3 separate regions of the Homo sapiens genome follow, and regions 2 and 3 are each linked to region 1. The links are contacts of gene promoters, found by promoter capture Hi-C in blood cells and fetal thymus (Javierre and others, 2016). All regions are on one chromosome and are shown on one strand. The core of a region is centred on a gene start or on the middle of the fragment in contact, and the rest is flanking DNA. Distances in the headings are between cores, read along the strand shown. Region 1 holds the start of NUP107 (nucleoporin 107). Region 2 has its middle 21 kb from the start of MDM1. Region 3 overlaps LOC105369818 (a long non-coding RNA gene).

Evidence for each region. Contacts are between HindIII fragments. The CHiCAGO score rates a contact against its expected background, and 5 or more counts as called.
Region 2: a contact is called between a fragment that was not itself captured here and the fragment with the promoter of NUP107 in region 1, in 16 of 17 cell types (total CD4 T cells, naive CD4 T cells, naive CD8 T cells and 13 more). The highest score is 22.5, in total CD4 T cells.
Region 3: a fragment that was not itself captured here is called in contact with the fragment with the promoter of NUP107 in region 1 in 2 of 17 cell types (activated CD4 T cells and naive CD4 T cells); the score reaches 6.7 in activated CD4 T cells.

The regions. Positions count from the first base shown.
Region 1 is chr12:68,684,005-68,688,336 of GRCh38, forward strand. It overlaps NUP107 (nucleoporin 107), which reads left to right and starts at 2,974. Exons shown (of 28, transcript NM_020401.4): 1 at 2,974-3,069. The coding sequence starts at 3,062. LOC100507250 (a long non-coding RNA gene) reads right to left here and starts at 2,855. Exons shown (of 3, transcript NR_038930.1): 1 at 2,733-2,855; 2 at 1,859-2,013. It also overlaps the pseudogene RPL7P42. The HindIII fragment of the contact is 6,312 bases long and covers 1-4,332 here.
Region 2 is chr12:68,351,274-68,355,244 of GRCh38, forward strand. No RefSeq gene overlaps it. Among named protein-coding and RNA genes, the nearest start is that of MDM1, 21 kb to the left of the region's middle. The HindIII fragment of the contact is 6,840 bases long and covers 1-3,971 here.
Region 3 is chr12:68,187,499-68,191,734 of GRCh38, forward strand. All of the region lies in intron 1 of LOC105369818 (a long non-coding RNA gene), which reads left to right. Among named protein-coding and RNA genes, the nearest start is that of IFNG, 30 kb to the left of the region's middle. The HindIII fragment of the contact is 1,833 bases long and covers 1,772-3,604 here.

The DNA of each region.
Region 1 (4,332 bases), core at 1,724-4,223:
AATTAGGAGGTGGGAGAATGAGACCATGCCAGGGCATTATTCTTCAGAAAGGTTATTAAAGGAGAAAAGTAACATTTCAATGACCTGCTATGTACAGTGTATACAGTTGATGTCTCTGTTTTTTTTGTTTGTCTGTTTTGTTTTTTTGAGACAAAGTCTCACTTTTTCATCCAGGCTGGAGTGCAGTGGCATGATCATAGCTCATTGCAGCCTCGGCCTGCCAGGATCAAGTGATCCTCCTGCCTCAGCCTCCCAAGTAGCTGGGACCACAGGCACGTGTCACCACACGTGGCTAATTTTTAAAACTTATGTTAGAGACAGGGACTCCCTATGACATCTTGTTTAATCCTCACAACACCCCCTGACAAAGGTATTGTTTTCTCCACTCTACAGATGAGGAATCTGCAGGTGCAGGGGGGTTGAACCTAGATGGAGCCCAAAGCAATGTTTTTATCAAAATGCCATGTTGTCTGAGAGGGGATAATAAGGTATGAAGAGGCCTTCCGGGGAACTATGCTTCCCAGAATTACAGCAGAACATAAATGCCTAAGGCAAAACTTCCACTGATTTCCTCTTTCCCAGCTGAAACCATGGAGGGTATTGAAGACAAGAAAAAGAAGATTCCTGCTGTGCCAGAAACCCTTTAAAAATGTGAGGGAAGGCTGGGCACTGTGGTTCATGCCTGTAATCCCAGCACTTTGGGAGGCCGAGGCGGGTGGATCATGAGGTCAGGAGTTCGAGACCAGCCTGGCCAGCATGGTGAAACCCCGCCTCTACTAAAAATACAAAAATTAGCTGGGCATGGTGGTGCACGCCTGTAATCCCAGCTACTTGGGAGGCTGATGTACAAGAATCGCTTGAACCGGGGAGGCAGAGGTTTCAGTGAGCCAAGATTGCATCACTGCACTCCAGCCTGGGCAAAAGGGCAAGACTCTGTCTCAAAAAATAAAAATAAAACACATGAAGGAATTTCACAGAGCTAAAGGTCAAGTGCCTGAGAAAGAAGTTTGCCCATAAAATGCTTTGAAAAGAAAGGAGAAGGCCAGGCGCAGTGGCTCACGCCTGTAATCCCAGCACTTTGGGAGGCTGAGGCAGGTGAATCACCTGAGGTCAGGAGTTCAAGACCAGCCTGGACAACATGGTGAAACCCCATCTCTACCAAAAACGCAAAAATTAGCCGGGTGTGGTGGCAGACACCTGTAATCCCAGCTACTCAGGAGGCTGAGGCAGGAGAATCGCTTGAACCCAGGAGGCAGAGGTTGCAGTGAGCCGAGATGGCACCACTGCACTCCAGCCTGGGCAATGGAATGAGACTCCATCTCGAAAAAAAAGAAAAAGAAAAGCAAGGAGAAAGCTACATCTATGAAAAAGCTAGGCACTGTCAGATGTGGTGGCTAACCCCTGTAATCCCAGCACTTTGGGAGACCCAGGTAAGAGGATGGCTTGAGCCCAAGAGTTTGAGACCAGCCTGGGCAACAACATAAGACCCCATTTCTCCAAAATATTTTTAAAAAACGGGGGAGGAGAGGAGGTCAGGCATGGTGGTGCGTGCCTGTGGTCCCAGCAACCTCAGGTACTAGGGAGGCTGAGGTAGGAGGATTGCTGGAGCCCAGGAGGTCAAGGCTGCAGTGAGCCGTGACTGTGCCACTGCACGTAAGCCGGGACAATAGGACAAGATCCTGTCTCAAAAAAAAAAAAAACAAAGAAAGAAGGAAGGAAGGAAACATAATTTAAAAAATCAAGTCCAAAAAAAAGCAAGCAAGAAGTAAAAAAAAAAAGCTCAGCACTGTCACAAGAAATATATGGCAAGAAAAGCTGGCAATTTCTATATACCTGTGAAACCCAAATTGTCACTTGCCTTAAGGATCAAATGTATCAATGGTGTGAGCCCAAAACTCTGTTGCAACTTCTTCACTTTCCCCAGATCTTCAATGGCAGCTTTGTTAAACTCAACAAGGCTTCAGTTAACACGCTGAGGATTGTGGAACCATATATCACATGGAGTACCTGAACCTGAAATCAGTAAATGAACTGATCTACAAATTGGTTATGGCAAAATCAATAAACAAATTACCTTAACAGATAACGCTTTGATTGCTAGATTTCCTGATAAATATGGCATCATCTGACTGGAGAATCTGATTCATGAGATCTATGCTGTTGAAAAACTCAAGTTCCTGTGATCCTTCAAATTATCTTCTCCACGAGGGAGAATGAAGGACTACCTATTTTGTATTAATAAAAGGTATAAATGCCAGCAACAGAAAAGACTATATCAACAGGCTTATTAAACGGATAAACTGAAGCATCTAACATTATTTTTGTAATCTGGTCAGTTAATAGCCAGTCACTACTTTCAAACTGGAAAAAACAAAAACCAAAACAAAAATGTGACTGACTCCTTCAAGACCAAAATACACCACTTTTTGCCTAGACGGCACTTTGAAATAGAGGGCAATACCATCATATTTCACGCTTGCCTTTCTACTTTTTAATACAGGTGAACTTTTTCTCCTTAATAGGAAAGAACACCAAGTAAAGAACAAATAGCAGTTATGGAAAATAGTTGCAAAAACTGCAGGGGGCTACAGAACAAAGGACTGAGTGTAGGCAGAGAGATAGAGATCCCCGAGGTGTGGGGCAGAGCCCACGCATCTGAATTCCAAGAACAGGCGCTTTCTGACAGAGAATACCAGGAAATGACTTCACATTTTTCCAGACTATCAACATACTTCATTCTTCCCAGTAGGAGAACCCAGGGCCTGTTCCACGCCCACAGACTTTGGTCAGGCAAAGCGGCCGCAGGGCGTCTGGGCTAAACGCAACCAGGAACACATTGGCAAACTTTTGCGCCTGCGCCCACCGGGCGTGCACCTGTAGGCTGAAGTCGCGCATGCGCTAGATGGGAACGTTGTTTCTTCTCCCCTACCCCTTTTCTGTGGGTCTGTTTTAGGGACAGACTGCTTCCGGGTCGAAGGGCTTGCTTCCGGAGAGCGGGAAGGCTAAAACGCGGTAGCTAAACTGCAGCCAACTTTGGTTGTGTGTGGAAAAGGCTTTAGCCATGGACAGGTCAGTACTGATGGTGGCAGCTGAGCCCGAAGTCTTGCCCGTCTCGCCTGTTGGCGAAACGAAATAGGTGAAACTAGACTCCCAGAAGAAGCCAAGGAGGTCCCGGGTGCTTCCCCTAAGGCTCCTTCCCCATGCCGGGAAATTTGGCCACAAATGGGGAAAAAGCCGCTTGGCGTGCGTCGGGGTGGGGTACAGATCATAATAGTCCCTTACTTTCCCACTACGTTCTGCGATCTATTCGGCGCTTTGGGGCAGCAACACTGTTCGCTCCTGGGGTGGGCGGGGTAGGTAGCGCGGCGTTCGAAATGCTAAGTGACCAGCCTGAGATCACAAAGCCAGTCAGTGAAGATACTGGGATCTCAGCCCAGACTTTCTGATTACAAGTGCCAGCATCAGATTCTGAGTTCCCTCTATGATCTGGGTACTGTGCTAGCCGCCTACAACAAAGATCAGTTATTCAAGATCCTTCCCCTCGGGGAATTAGTTGTGTAATGGAGACAACCAAGCAGTGTAAAGTGGTAAGTGTTTGGGGGCGATTAAGTCTCCTTGTCACTGTAACTATCAGGAAGACCCCTCAAAGAAGGTAACTTTCTAGCTGGTCTTTGAATAATAAGAGTACATTATTCGTACTCCAAACATTGAGTACCTACTATGTGACTGCCATTGTTCTAAAGGCGTTGAATATATATTATTAGCTTATTTAATCTTCAGAACAAGAAAAATCCTATGAGATGGGTACTGTTATCCTTTTTTCATATATAACACTGAGACTAAAAGAGGTTAAGGAACTTGCTGAAAGTTCGGAAGCTAATAAATACAAGAACCAAATTGCCAACCTGCATCTGTGTGTCTCCAGCCTACCTGAGGCTCTTTGAGGAGTAAGTAGTTGTTGACCAGGTGCTCAAGGGGGCAAATGTAGGTCTTTGTAAAAGAAGCATATTCAGAGGTGCTAGGATATGAAAAAAAAGTACGTGTAGCTCAGTGGTCACATGCAGTATACGTTTAAAGTGATGTTTGTGGCTGAATAGAAGACTGAACCCCTAAACTGGGGTCACATTGTAAATATCATTTTAGGAAATTTTTACTTCTATAGACCAGAGAGCTATCTGAAGGTTTTTTTTTTTGTTTTTAATTTTAATTGTTAAACGTTTAAAATTGTTTCTATGTGGTTGTTTCCCATACTTTCCTGCTGAAGGAATATCTGAAGGTTTTAAGTGGAGGAAAAGCATATTAGATTCTTGTCTTAAACACAGGCCTTTTAGT
Region 2 (3,971 bases), core at 432-2,931, 330 kb before region 1:
TTCAAGCAATTCTCCTGCCTCAGCCTCCCGAGTAGCTGAGATTACAGGCATGCGCCACCATGCCTGGCTAATTTTTTTTTGTATTTTTAGTAGAGACGGGGTTTCTCCATGTTGGTCAGGCTGGTCTCGAACTCCCGACCTCAGGTGATCCACCCACCTCAGTCCCCCAAAGTGCTGGGATTACAGGCTTGAGCCACTGCGCCCGGCCAATAGTGCCTATTTCATGAGATGGTAGTGAGAATTAATTTAGTTAATATAGGTGAAAAATGTAAATACTGACTGGCTAATTGTAAGTATTAAATATTATCATTATTCAATTCTACAGAACAGTAGTTCCAAGAGATGTTTCTAGGGAAACAAGAGCCTGTGGTCAAATAAGATTGAAAACGCTTCACACTAACATATGTCATCAAATCTACAAAGTTATTGATTACATACCACTAGGAAAGAAAAAGCAATGCCAATTAAATTAGGACACAATGCTTTCCCCAGGGATTTGGCGATTTTCCTGGTTTCAGTTGTGTTGCTCCCTTGGTGAGTGGTAGCCACTCCTTGTGCGCCTACCTCGGTAACAAATATAGCCCTAGCTACTGGGTATCTTCCTTTCTTAAGTTCTATCAAGCATTTGGTTATTGCTTTGCAAGAAGATAAGGAACTGTAGTGCTGTGGGCTAGATGTTTGTCCTCCTAAAATTCATACATTGAAATCCTAACCCCCAAGGTGATGGTAACAGGAGGTGGGGCCTTTGGGAAGTGATTAGGTCCTGAGGACAGAGCCTTTATGAGTGGGATTAGTGCACATTAAAAAATGCCTGAGACAGGAATATTCAGCCCCTATTCAGCCTGAAGAAGTTACAGAGGGTGACTCTTCATCCCTCTGTAACCGTTAGGATTAAGGGTCCCCTTGTAAAAAGGGAGGGGAAAACATGTCAGAGGCATTTGAACCAGAGCAACTCCATCTTGAATAGGAGCTGGGTAAAATAAGGATGAGACCGACTTGGCTCCATTCCCAGGAGATTAGACATTCTTAGTCACAGGATGAGATAGGAGTTTGGCACAAGATACAGGTCACAAAGACCCTGCTGATTAAACAGGTTGAGGAAAAGAAGCTGGCCAAAACCCACTGAAACCAAGATGGGGATGGAAGTGACCTCTAGTCATCCTCACTGCTCATTATATGCTAATTATAATGCATTAGCAAGCTGAAAGACACTCCGCCAGTGCCATGACAGTTTACAAATGCCATGGCAATGTCAGGAAGTTAACCTGTATGGCCTAAAAAGGGGAGGAACAGGAACCCTCAGTTCAGGGAATTGCCTACCCTTTTCCTAGGAAACTCGTGATAACCCACCCTTTGTTTAGCATATAATCGAGAAATAACTATAAGCAGCCCATGTGGCTACTCTGCCTATAGAATAGCCATTCTTTTGTTTCTTTACTTTCCTAATAAACTTGTTTTCACTTTAACAACAACAGCAAAAAGGCCTGAGAGAATCTCATTGACGCTTCCACCATGAGAAGACATGGTGAGAAAGCACCATCCATGAACCAGAAAGTGTATCCCCTTACCAGACTCTGAATCTGCCAGAGCCTTCACCCTGGATGTTCTAGCCTCCAGAACTTCGAGAAATAAATTTCTGTTGCTTGTAAGCTACTCGGTTTGTGGCATTTTGCTATAGCAGCTCAAATAGACTAAGACATGTAGTTAACCTACAATGATGAGCTTCTGCTGCTCTAAGATCTTGTATATACCCGACTGCTCTGTTTCCATACCTTTTGACATATACAGTAACTTTTCATGTCAATACCAATTCATGGTGTGATCTTTATGAAGATACTTTAAAGAGCAATGAAACATCATTCTATGCTGTGCTAGGAATATACCTAACTCAGCTGATGTGACAACAAAAATAGCTATGGCCAACATCGCATGTACCCAGGCAATGACAACCATGGCAAAACTGCTGCCTGACCAACAACTGCTATAAGATACCACTGACTGTAAGAAGCATCCTACCTCAGAGATAATAAAGTACAGAGGGAAGTGCTACTTAGAATTGATGAAATATTTATTCCCCCTTTAAGAGATCACCAATGCATATTAACATATTAAAGGTGCAAGGAAGCCCTGCAGTAAAGAAACCCTCTTCCCTGCTTTAAGCCAATATTGAACCAGACAGCCCTCTTTACAAGTTATACCTATCAACATGTTGGCAAATTCATATCAACATATTCTACTGAAATAGAATCTAACAAATCTGAGCATAATCAAGTAATCACAGGGAATTTTTTCAACCGCTTTATAGTCAAGCAGCTATATAGTCAACCAGGAAGACTGACCTGGTTGTGGAATCAAAGACAGAAAAGTAGCCCCCACAGAAATCCTAGAGACTAATGATGATAAGTCAATATCTCCATATTCTTAAAGAAGACACTTGCCGGCCGGGCGCGCTGGTTCACACCTGTAATCCCAGCACTTTGGGAGGCTAAGGCAGGTGGATCACCTGAGGTCGAGAGTTTGAGACCAGCCTGGCCAGTATGGTGAAACTCCGTCTCTAATAAAAATACAAAAGTTAGCCAGGCATGGTGGCACATGCCTGTAGTCCCAGCTGCTCAGGAGGCTGAAGCAGAAGAATTGCTTGAACCCGGAAGGTGGAGGTTGCAGTGAGCCAAGACTGTGCCACTGCACTCCAGCCTGGGTGACAGAGCAAGACTCCATCTCAAAAAAAAAAAATACAAAAATTAGCCAGGTGTGGTGGCATGCACCTGTAGTCCCAGCTACTCGGGAGGCTGAGACAGGAGAATTGCTTGAACCTGGGAGGCGGAAGTTGAAGTGAGCCGAGATCATGCCACTGCACTCGAGTCTGGGCAACAGAGCAAGACTTTGCCTCAAAAAAAAAAAAAGCACTTGCCTCATCCCCAAGTCCAGAGTTTTTATCACGATAAGACTAACTCCTTAGAACCAGTCAAATTCCAGTTTAATAAACACTATGGAGCCCTTGATATACATTAAGTCCTGAGCTCAGCACCAGAGCTACGAAATGCTTATAGGACCTCTGTTTCATCATCTGCAAAAACGCAATAATAATAATAACACAATAATAATAGTATTACTGTATGTATGCAGTGAAGTACTGTATGTACAGCACTTAATATAGTGCCCTGGCTTGGAGGGTTGCAAGTGTCATTCCAGTGAGGAAGATGGAAGGGAAATGTAGGAAATGCCGAAGAAGCACGAGCCACTGGGAGCCATGGGGGCCACTGTCATTCCCCTGTCCCTTATTCTATAAGAGCGATTGCTATAGAGGCTGCTGAGCAAATGGCTTACTGTCTTCTGGTTTAGTTTTAACTTTAGGTTCAACTCATTCAAGTTCTTTTGTGCCCACAAAATCACAAGAATGAAGTGAGGCTTTAGCTGGGCTGGCATCAGTCATCTGTCACCTGCATAGGCTGGGGTTCAGCAGTGCACAGCAATGACTTATTTCATCTTCAGGTTTGTATTTGGTGTGAGAACCTGCAGGGAGAGGGAGATCATTTGGCAAGGGCAGGGAGGGGCATATAAGCATCGGGAGGTGAGCCAGAGTCAGAAGTCAGCTCAGAGGCCTTCACATCCAGCCCAGATCAGGAGCTAAGTAAAGGTGGCACCTTCAGTACTGGGTCCTCTGAACTGGGGGCCATCCAGGACTTCATGAGACATCCAGGCCCACTTTAACTGGGCCCTTAACTGGAGTTAGAGCCACACTAGGTACACAGATTCTAAAGACAGGGATACTTGTACCCAGGGTACCCACTTCACAGCCACACTCCCAGTTCTTTCTCCCTGTCCAAGAGGCTTAACTAGTCACTCCTACTGTACTGCAGTGCTTCTCACACTCACAGCCACTCGGCGGGAATATGTCAGGAGCTTAAACACTCAGCCTCCTGCTAGGAAAGAGAAACTAATGTCAGAGAAAATGTTTAAAAGGAGAGCAT
Region 3 (4,236 bases), core at 1,438-3,937, 500 kb before region 1:
AAGAACAAATGACAGACCATGGAATTGAGGCTCGATAATGAGAGAAGTAAAGACATAAAGTGGAGAGGAACCGTGAAAAGATGCTAGGAATAATGTTTTTTTTCAATTCCATTGGAATTTAATGACAGCTAGAGTGGGTTATAGAAAGGGCAAGCTGAAAAGTCATAGAGTAGGAGTCATGTCATTGAGATAATGTGGGGAATGGGGGCTGTTGCTATTACAATGCAACTTCTAGGATCCTCCCAATGGGAAGAATTGGCTAAAGTAAGATAAAGGGCAAGATCTGAGTGGAAGGGAGATCAGGAATGGAGAGACCAGCGTGTTTGAAGTACCACATGTACACATATTGAAGTGTATGATATGAGGTGGTGTTGGAGAGTGTGACAGTGAGCAATAGGTAAAATCTTTCTAGAATGAGGAGGAGCACCTGAGGGATCAGTACATGATGACCATGGGGATTAGTGCATAATGTAGTCTGATGATAGGATATTTAAAGCAGGAAGACACTAAAGAGTTTCAAGAAGAAGAGAGGGAGAATGGGGTGTGCCTTGATGAAACACAAGAATGGTACTTAAACGACCTCCACCTACATGCCCAGGGTGCAAAAGAAAAGGGAAAGAAAACAGATGCATCTAGAGAAATCTGCAAAGGAACCAGGTCTCCAAGGGACAGTCTGGTCAGTTACAGTAAGAAAGCAAAGTTCAGAGAAAATGTTAAAGATATAAGGGATCTTGCTGGTGACTGACAGTGAGTTCAGGGGACACACTGAAAGGGTTTCAGAAGCTGGAGATAGGTGGAAGATGAAGTGAGGGAAAAGGAAGTGCAGTGCCATCACGGAAATGAAAGCCTTGGGACGGAGGGGTCACCTGGATGTCCTGGGCTTCTTGGGCCCTCCGTCCTAAACAAGCATAAAGAGCATCACGGGATTATCCTTGGTAGTCTCAAAGCTGAGAGTCATGGGGAGGCTGTGAACATTGAAGATCCTACCAGGGACACAAAATTACGGGTCCCTTCTTCAATCCTGCCTGTGGTTAGCAGGAGGTTGAGGGAGCGATGGTCCTATTTCCCAGAGGAATAAGAGCTCTGGGCTCCTTCAGGAAACCTGGGGAAGAGGATGCCCAAGTCTGCATGAATACCAACAGATGAGGCCATCGGAAGAAGGGCTCCTAAGAAAGAGAAACCACACACAGAAAGGAAGAAGTGAATATGACCCATGCTCACACACCAACATGCCTATAGCCAGGAGGAAATATGAGAGCTAGGAGGGAATTTAGGAGTCTCTGAATTGAAAGTATTCGTTTCAGTGAGGAGGAAACTGAAGTTTAGAGACGTAGAATAAACTTATTGTAAGAGGAACCTATGTAATATGTCTTAGAAAGCTCTCTTTCAAAATCATTATCCAAAAAGGAAAGAATGGGCCACTTAAAGGAGTATTGATTTATTAATCGGGAAATTTGCTTATGGAAAATAGGCAAAACTTGCTTCGAAATGCTTATCACAATCCACCTAAAATTTCTGTTGGCAGCATCATTATCTGTAGCTGCTTCAGTGGTGACACTAATAAATTCACATTACAGAATAGTAGTAAAGGATTTATTTTTCTTTTACATTTTATATTATGGTCACCAATTGTGAGCTCTGAAGTAAAATGTCCTGTTACATGACAAATTTAAAACAATACATTTTAGAATTTACCTTGACAACACTCTCAGAGAAGATTATTTTAGAAACTATTGATAAATTAAAAATCTAAGTGAATTATATGCCTAAAAGCTTTCTTTTAAGTGATACTTGAGGGGAAAAAAACGTCATCCCAACATTTTTAGACATTGAACTTTACAAGTGTAGAAATGGTCACAGAAAGCCTATGTTATTCTGAAATATATTTTGTTTCAGCTATGTTTGTGAAAATTGACCAGCTACTTGACAAATCTAGATTTTCTTAAAGGCACTCAACTAAATGCTATTGTCTCCTAGGACTTGTCTTGGCCATTTTGATTATCATAACTCTCCAATATAGGCTTTAGGATTTCCAAATTCATACTCTGAAGCCCAAAATTATTCCCACTATAATTTAGAGTTAGCCTTTGAAATAACTTATAGAAAGCATTAATTGATTCCATATCTAGGGGCCTTCTGAGTTGTTTATAACTTATATATATCTACATATATATTTATTGATAAAATTTTATTTTTAATATAATTTACAACCAGATTTCTCTTACAAAAAAGATTCAATCTATTTTAAAAGTATGATAATCAATTATATTATATAATTTGTGCCACAATTCATACTTATCTATTGATTTAGAAACCACATTCAAGATAATCCTCTCTACCAAGAATTGGCCCCCAGCGTAGCAGCAAAGCACCATTAACTATCATTTCCACCGACAGCTGAAGTTGTGGTTTTGCATTCAGCACTTTTTTCCTTGTGTGGAGTATAGAACAAAAGATGTTACTAATGTAATAATGTGAGTCATCATCCAAATCTGTGGTTACTACTACCATGAAAAGTTTTCTTTCTCAGTAGGAAAGTGTCATTGGTCATTCCCAAGATGTTACAGATGAACAGAAAAAAAGTGAATATCGTTGGCACTTCCATTTTATCTAGGAAATAAAACTGAGTTCCTCACTTGTGGGTAAAGGCAAGTCACTGTGGTGACACACCATGTTTTTTCAGTAGATGAGGTGAGCAGGAAGCAGCAATCTGAGATGTCTCTTCAGTGCATTTCACACTTACGACATTCACTTTGTTTCAATAAATACAAATAGCAAACATAAAAATTATTATCTATATATACTTATTAAAATCTCTTCTAATCTCCTCCAAACATATTTATCATATCAGCATTTTGCTTCCTTAAATGTTTTTCTTATTCTTTGAAGAGAAATCCAGTAGTTGTTGTTTTTCTTCTTCTTCATTAATAATACACTTTTCTAGCTCTGCTTCATCTCAAGATAACCATTTGTGTGAACTGGTGTTTTCCAAACTGTTTTCTAGGTAACAAGGCATTTGATCTGACTAAGTGCCTACAAGGCCAATGTATTCTTGGAAGAAACAATCTTCTAGAAACTCATATTAAACAAAGTTAAAGAGTTGTTTTAATGTGGAACTTCTCCAACCTGTAACATTCTGATGGGCTTTATAATTCCCCATACAGAAAATATAGTTTGCACCATTTTCTTAAACTTGTTAAATAAGAAAACACTTTTGTAAGTTTAAAACAGGAAAACTAATATGTTGAGGAAATACTATATATTCCATGCAATAGAGTGAGAAAAGCTGATTTCAGTCACACATTTGTTTCTTTCTTATGGGCAAAGTACACCATTACTTTGTGGTTAGTGCTTGCTGTTATGTCCAAGGCATCTATATTATTATGATGACCAGATATTCATGGTTTGGTGCCAACTTCAATTATGTGGTCCCATTGTCCCTCTGAGCATGTTAGAACTTTTCAGAGTTTGCTGCCCAATTTTTCATTCAGAAAATATATTCTCTGCATATATGGATAAATAATTTGGTAAATCAAAAGAACATAATCTTCCATAGTTAAGAAGTTGTTTCTGCCATTTGTTAAAAGTAACCAGATAACTAAGAAGCTTACCTGAGAGAAAATAAGGCACAACAGGTGAATCAGAGAATTGTAAAATCTTCTAGATCATGGCTTTAACTTCTTTCATGATAATTATGTGATGCTACTAAAAATATTTAACATCCCCAAGCCTGTTTCTACATCCACATAAATTACAAAACCAAAATCAATAATCTTTTTACTCTCTACTCCTTAGTCATTGTAAGGATCCTTCAGGTCTGTGCAAAAATGTCACCTCATTGGTGAGCTTTTTCCTGACCAGCCCTTTTTTTTTTTTTTTTCGGAGACAGAGTCTCCTCTATCACCCAGGCTGTAGTGCAGTGGTGTGATCTCAGCTCACTGCAAGCTCCGCCTCCCAGATTCACGCCATTCTCCTGCCTCAGCCTCCCAAGTAGCTGGGACTACAGGTGCCTGCCACCACACCCGGCTAATTTTTTTGTATTTTTAGTAGAGACAGGGTTTCACAGTGTTAGCCAGGATGGTCTCAATCTCCTGACCTCGTGATCCACCCACCTCAGCCTCCCAAAGTGCTGGGATTACAGGAATGAGCCACTGTGCCCAGCTCTGATCAGCCTTTTTTTTAAGAGCAAACCAGTCCCCGCCCTTCCCCAGTCCCTGAAACCCCCCCACTCCTGCT